Regions from separate parts of the Homo sapiens genome. Here region 2 is linked to region 1. The links are contacts of gene promoters, found by promoter capture Hi-C in human tissues and cell types (Jung and others, 2019). All regions are on one chromosome and are shown on one strand. Each heading gives the region's core, a stretch centred on a gene start or on the middle of the fragment in contact. The rest is flanking DNA. Distances are from core to core; before and after follow the strand shown. Region 1 holds the start of ZNF780A (zinc finger protein 780A). Region 2 holds the start of SNRPA (small nuclear ribonucleoprotein polypeptide A).

Evidence for each region. Contacts are between HindIII fragments. The study calls those that stand out against the background at their distance.
Region 2: the fragment with the promoter of SNRPA here is called in contact with the fragment with the promoter of ZNF780A in region 1 in 1 of the 25 tissues and cell types used here (hippocampus).

The regions. Positions count from the first base shown.
Region 1 is chr19:40,089,304-40,092,593 of GRCh38, reverse strand. It overlaps ZNF780A (zinc finger protein 780A), which reads left to right and starts at 1,651. Exons shown (of 6, transcript NM_001142578.2): 1 at 1,651-1,688; 2 at 2,359-2,428. RefSeq lists a silencer at 1,500-1,829 and an enhancer at 1,377-1,918. The HindIII fragment of the contact is 2,589 bases long and covers 663-3,251 here.
Region 2 is chr19:40,749,953-40,753,324 of GRCh38, reverse strand. SNRPA (small nuclear ribonucleoprotein polypeptide A) reads right to left here and starts at 2,122. Exons shown (of 6, transcript NM_004596.5): 1 at 1,844-2,122. The coding sequence starts at 1,916. It overlaps ACTMAP (actin maturation protease), which reads left to right and starts at 2,848. Exons shown (of 6, transcript NM_198476.5): 1 at 2,848-3,372. RefSeq lists enhancers at 888-1,515, 1,516-2,143, 2,231-2,300, 2,841-3,080, 2,772-3,372 and silencers at 2,054-2,236, 2,501-2,640. The HindIII fragment of the contact is 3,030 bases long and covers 659-3,372 here.

The DNA.
Region 1 (3,290 bases), core at 402-2,901:
GAAATATCTGACTATAATTGTGGATCTGTCTCCTTTTCGATCTAATAGATTTTTCTTCCCATACTTAGAAGCTTTGCTTTTAGGAGCAAAATTTATGTTTGTTTTTTTCTACTCGATGAGCTATCTCCTTTATCATTATTATGCCCTTCTTTATCTCTGGTAATAGTCTATGTCCGGAGTCTACTTTGTTTTTAATAAAGCCACTCCAGCTTTCTTTTGACTAGTGTTAGGATGGTGTATATTTTTCCATCCTTTTACTCTTAACCTTTTAGTGCTTTTCATTTAACATATTACCTGTAGGTAGCACCCATTTGGGTCTGACTTTTTGTTTATTTATTTATTTAATTATCTTTTTTTATTATACTTTAAGTTCTAGGGTACATGTGCACAAAGTGCAGGTTTGTTACATATGTATACATGTGCCATGTTGGTGTGCTGCACCCATTAACTCGTCATTTACATTAGGTATATCTTCTAATGCTATCCCTTCCCCCTCCCCCGACCCCACTATAGGCCCCGGTGTGTGATGTTCTCCACCCTGTGTCCAAGTGTTCTCATTGTTCAATTCTCACCTATGACTGAGAACATTTGGTGTTTGGTTTTCTGTCCTTGCGATAGTTTGCTCAGAATGATGGTTTCCAGCTTCATCCATGTCCCTACAAACGACATGAACTCATCCTTTTTATGGCTGCATAGTATTCCATGGTGTATATGTGCCACATTTTCTTAATCCAGTCTATCATTGATGCACATTTGGGTCTGACTTTTTAAAAAATCCAATCTGACAATCTTTTTAAATTAAGGTGTTTAGACCATTTACATTTAATGTGATTATTGATATGGTTGAGTTAATCATCTTATTTGTTTTCTGTCACAATTCTGGAATGAAAAGACGTTTTGCTCTTTATTATTACATGTTTCCTCCTTATGTAGCATAGGAAACTAGAAAAATGATTTTGAAAGTTAAATATTGTTAGACTACAACAGTGAAATCAGGCTCTTCCTAGGAAAAGCAAGCCCTTTTTTGCATTTGTTTATACTATTTTAACAAAGTGTTAATTATTCATCCTTCAAGATAAGGCAAGTAATTATCTGTGTATTTTTATCCGTTTCCATGTCGTCCTGAATCACGTTTTTCTCTCCAGATAACAGGAACATTGTCTCGAAGAATCCAGGACATTTGATTCTGAAATCTCCAATGTGAACCACACTTCCTCTCCTAGTATATAACCAACCAATTCTTTAGTTCAAGCTTTTCAAATTTATCCTAAGTCCCCTTCAAATAGCACAGAGAAGTGGAAGCCTATCGCTGGGGTCTGAGACAAAGGAGTTAAAGCACCTACATGTTGACATAATTTTACTTTAAATTCTTCTTTCTTCTTTAAAAGTTCTGCTCATTTGCATTCTCCATGGAGAGAAAAAGTAAATTATACTGACGCTCCGAGAGGGAAACGCTCTTCTCACATGGGGATCCTTGCTCATGGCAACAACCTGTGCACCCCGCGGGCTGGAACTCCCACGAATCCACTAGGCTCGGCTCCCTTAGGGGTCAGCCCCCATAGTATGCTGGGATCAACCTGAACGGATCACAGCTCAAGGCTTCTGAGGCTTTTTCTGTTCGGGACTGTATTTCCCAGCGGCCACCGCGCCAGTCCACTTCCGGTCTCCGGGGTCGACGACATAGCGGGGTAAGGTCTTCACGTCTGAGGAAGAGATCTGTGGCTGCGGGAGATCTCTGCGGATTGGGGCTCCAGCCTGACTGACCCGACAGTGCGGGTGGCCTAGGGGGAGGCGCTCAGAGTAGGAACCCGGGGGTGCAGACGGGATCTGCCGGATCCCCAGGCGTGTGTGTGCGCGGGTATCAGAGGAGGGGGATTGTGAGATCATGAGTGACGGAGGGGACTGTGAGTGTGTGCGTGAGGTTCTATGCACAGGCCCGGGAGGGCGTGTGGACGCAGCGCACTTTGCTGAGTGACACTGTGCCGGTGCCCCTAGGCTCCTGCTGCTTCCTCCCTCTTTCCGCTTCACAGCTGCGGGGACTGCAGCAGAGGAATGGCCCCAGTAGGGAGGTCAGATATTGAGCCGAGAATGAAGCTTTACACAAGAAAGCGCAGAAGTGCCCCCGAGTGTTCCCCAGGGGGGCAGCTACATGTTGAGAACCACAGCGTCCTCAGAGCTCTGTCCCCAGAAACCAGCTCCAAACTGGTTGTACTGGTTGAATCGATTCCTCTTCCTTTTACTTCCTTCCTATTTCGTGTGAAGTGAGGGAAATTGTGGCTATGGAGGGAGGGTGTTTTCAAACTTAGTCTGCGCTCCAAGAAATGCCTGGAGTCTCACGCTTGCCGTATCCTTCTCCAGTCGTATTTTTATCCAAAAGAAGGACCTGGAGGAGGATGAGAGCGTTACTGCTGCACACCTAAAGTCAAGGGTGAGTTTGTGCTTTGTATTTGTTCAAGACATGCGTTTTTGATTTTAGAATATTGAGATTTCCCCTTAAATTTTCAGTGAAACTAGGGGGATATGCAAATTGATTCGTGCCCCCTCCTTCACCTTTCCACTTAATAGTCACAAAACAATTTGGCAAATCGTTCACACCTTCCTGTGCGCTCTCTTTTTCGAAGCTGGTATAGAAATACACCTCCAGTAGTTAATATTAAAGCTCCATTTTAGACCCATATTTGGGAAGGAGGAGATTAGTGTTTAGGTGGAATCACACACTAGACATCAGTTGGTCTTTACAGACCTCCTTTTCAAAACAGGGAAGAATGGAGATGGTTGGATGATCTCCATTGCCTGTGAGGCATTCGGTAGTGGAAAAGTGACCGCACAGAAATTGGTATCAACAAGAGCCAGGATTTTTCCAGGGAGTCCATGAGATGATATTTGTAATACTTGCCAGATCTCTCTGAGGTTTGGCAGCTCCAGTTGTGTTTTAGGCGTGTGTGTGTGAGTGTGTGTGTGTGTGTGTGTGTGTGTACTGTGAGAGGCAGTACACTGTTGTGGTTAAGAATAGGGGAGTGGATCCAGAGTATCTGGGTTGGAATATTGGTTCTGTCATTAGAATGAATTAATATCGTAAAGCCCCTTAGAGCAGTGCTAGGCATATAATAATGTTTAATATGTTTTAACTGTTGTTTTTTGTGTAGTCATTTTAAGTCATTCCCCTTGACTCTCTACAGAACAGGAGCATTGGGAATATGTGATTCATTGCGACTGCTGGTTGTATATTAAGAAAATGAGTGAGGGGCTCAAATGATCTAGGACAGAAATTCTTTCTTTTTAAATCGACA
Region 2 (3,372 bases), core at 873-3,372, 660 kb before region 1:
GGAGTACAGTGGTGCGGTCTCAGCTCACTGCGACCTCTGCTTCCCAGGGTTCAAGTGATTCTCCTGCTCAGCCTCCCGAGTAGCTGGGACTGTAGGTGCGCACCGCCACATCCAGCTGATTTTTGTATTTTCAGTAGAGACGGGGTTTCACCATCTTGGCCAGACTGGTCTTGAACTCCTGACCTCAAATGATCTGCCCACCTCAGCCTCCCAAAGTGCTGAGATTACAGGCGTGAGCCAGTGCCCGGCTGCTGGTTTTGCTTTCTTCAACAGCAACTTCACTGGTAACCTCAAACTGAATCCCAACAAGCTCCTTCGGTTCTCCCGATAATTTTCTTGAAGTGATAAGAGCTAACATTTATCCAGCCCTTTACTAGCTGCCAGTTACCATAAAAAAGAAATACTGCAAGGTTTAGCTAATTTAATCTCCCCCAACATCCATGCAAAAAAGGTATTATGATTTTGCTCAGTTTTTAGATCTGGAAAATGAGGTTCAATAAAGGTGATAATTTACTTGAGAATGTGAGAGAGTCTTTCCGATTTCAATAATTGAGTTCTTTTTTTTTTTCCTTTTTTCAGATAGGTTCTTGCTCAGCCCAGGCAGCAGTGCAGTGGTGCAATCATAGCTCACTGCAGCCTCAACCTCTCTAGCTCAAGCGATCCTCCCACTTCAGCCTCCCAAGTAGCTGGGACCACAGACGCACCCCACCCACGCCCAGCCTTTTTTTTTTTTTTTTTTTTTTTTGTAGAGAAAAGGTCTGGCTTTGTCGCCTAGGCTGATCTTGAACTCCTGTGTTTCAGTGATCCTCCTGCCTCAGCCTCCCAAAGTGTTGGGCTTACAGGCCTGAACCACCACGCCCGGCCAAAAATTGGGTTCCTAAGCAGAATTCTATACGGGTGGCCTCAACCACTTTACTTGCTATGTGACCCTGGGCAAGTCACATCACCCCTGTCTCAGTTTCTTTTTCTTTTCTTTCTTTTTTTTTTGAGACGGAGTTTCGCTCTTGTTGCCCAGGCTGTAGTTCAATGGCGCAATCTCGGCTCACTGCAACCTCCGTCTCCTGGGTTCAAGCAATTCTCCTGCCTCAGCCTCCCGAGTAGCTGGGATTATAGGCATGCGCCACCATGCCCGGCTAATTTTGTATTTTCAGTAGAGAAAGGGTTTCTCCATGTCGGTCAGGCTGGTCTCGAACTCCCGACCTCAGGTGATCCGCCCGCCTCGGCCTCCCAAAGTGCTGGGATTGATTACAGGGGTGAGCCACCGCGCCCGGCCCCAGTTTCTTAGTTGACGAATGGGAATAACAATAGCCTTCTTCCTACAAGATTGTTGTGAGAATTAAATGTTATCAAGATTTATATGAAAGCACACAGACCAGCCCATGATACAGAGCGTTAGCCACCATTATGGTACATGTTCATTGTGGGCTGATCACTGAAAAAGCCGGTGACCAAGAAAGCCCCAGTCCTTGCCCTCACGGAGTTCAAAGGCCACTGGGAGGAGAGAGAGCCCCACGACAGCTCAGAGGAATCAGGGCTTGATGGGAGATGGTCTCAGCGTACGGCAAGTCAGCGGCAGCCACGTGAAGGGACAAGGCAAGGCTTCCTGGAGGAAGGGTCCTGTGACCTCAAACCTTGTAAGATGAGCAGCAGTGACCACGTTAAAGGGCAGAGTGTAAGATGAACTAATGGAGTGTTGAAGACAGGAAGTAGTTTGTGTAAAGGCCAAGGAGTTAACTCGAAGTTTGGCTGGACAAACACTTAGAAAGAGAGGCGGGTGCAGGGGACGGAAGAGGGGCCAGCCCGTGCGGGACAGTCTGGACTCCGGACTATCCCGAGAACTCACCATCCTTCTTGATCTTCTCATTGAGGTTGTTGATATAAATAGTGTGGTTAGGGCGGGTCTCGGGAACTGCCATGGAGTGAAGTGTTGAGGTAAGTCTTAAAGGAGGAAAAACGTGACTTTAGCCCTGGGTTTCTCCAAATCCTTTGTCCCAACGTCGGCTGCTCAAGGATCTTCCTCCGAAAAGGAAGTCAGGTAAGGCGGGAGTAGGGGCAAGGACGGAGGCAAAGCGCGACAACAAAGCGTGCGTAGGACCCGCTTCTCCAGCCCGCGTGCGGAGAGAACTCTCGAGAGATTTACTACGACTTCCAGGATGCTCTACGCGACCCGGTGGGCGGAGCACCCTAAATGGCGATTCCCATTGGCCCAAGCATCCGAAGGGCCGTCCCGGAGAAAAAACCCGGATGTGGGAGCCAGTATAGAAAAAAGGGACAGGTCCTAGGCAGCCTGGCCTCGAGCAGCAAGTTTCCTCAGACGGGCCCAGGAAGGCCCGGACGCCAAGCGTACCGCTCGCCTGCCGCCGATGGTCGTTTGCACCGGAGGTTACCTTCCGACAGGGCCGTAGTTCTCTCAACCGGCGCCTGCTACTTCCCTGAGACCAAACCACAAAGCTTTCTCTCCTGGCCCCGCCTCTGCCTTTCTGCCAGCCAATCGCCGCGCGGAAACGCAGTAGCTTGACCAATCAGAGCAAGTCTCGTTTCTGGGCTCAGCTGTTGCCAATCAAAACGATATTTGGGTTCCCGCCTAGGTAGAAAAACCCCGCCCCACTCCCTGAAAGCCCACCTCCTTCCGTGGCGCCCGGGTCTACGGACCAATCAGTGAAGGTCACGAGTCTGTACGCGTCTCGCGCTGCGGTGTCTTCCGGAGGCAATCCTTTTTGGAGTCCCGCCTCTTACCCCCGCCAGAGCTGCGTTTTCTGTCACGTGATCGCAAAATGGGCGGGAACTGTTGCGTGTAATACCACGTGATATGGGAAAGGCAGTGTGCGGGGGCCGCCATTTTCCGGGAGTGGGAGGTGCACTTTACTTCCTGACTCCTTTCCTTTTTCCAGTGGTTATCGCGGCGCCCACCGGCCTCTGATCTCTGAGTCTTCTCCAACCCACAGACGTTTTTTGTTGCTCTGGTTCCAGGACCTTCTCCACAACTAGGCCATTTTCCCTGCCAGGTGTCCTTTTTGACCTCTTGACCTCTGACTCAAAGGTCAGCTCAAAGGTTCCGAACTCGGGCCTGGGATGTGAGGGGGTACTGAACCTAAGTTCTCCGAATCTTTAGCCCTGGGTCCCTAAGTCGCATCCTTAAGGCACCTCACTCTAGATCTGAGCCTTCATATCCCAAACTCACTCATGAGTTTCCACATCCAGCCCCAAAGAATGAGTTAACTCCTACTAACTCTCCACCTAAGACTCCCGAGGTAACCCAACCGGTACCACAGATCCGGTTCCGGATTTAAGGACCCCACCCTGTTAACCGTCAGGTGCCTTATGACTTGAGTCAGCCTCGCAATTCCTGCTCCCGTGGTTTCAAATATTAGC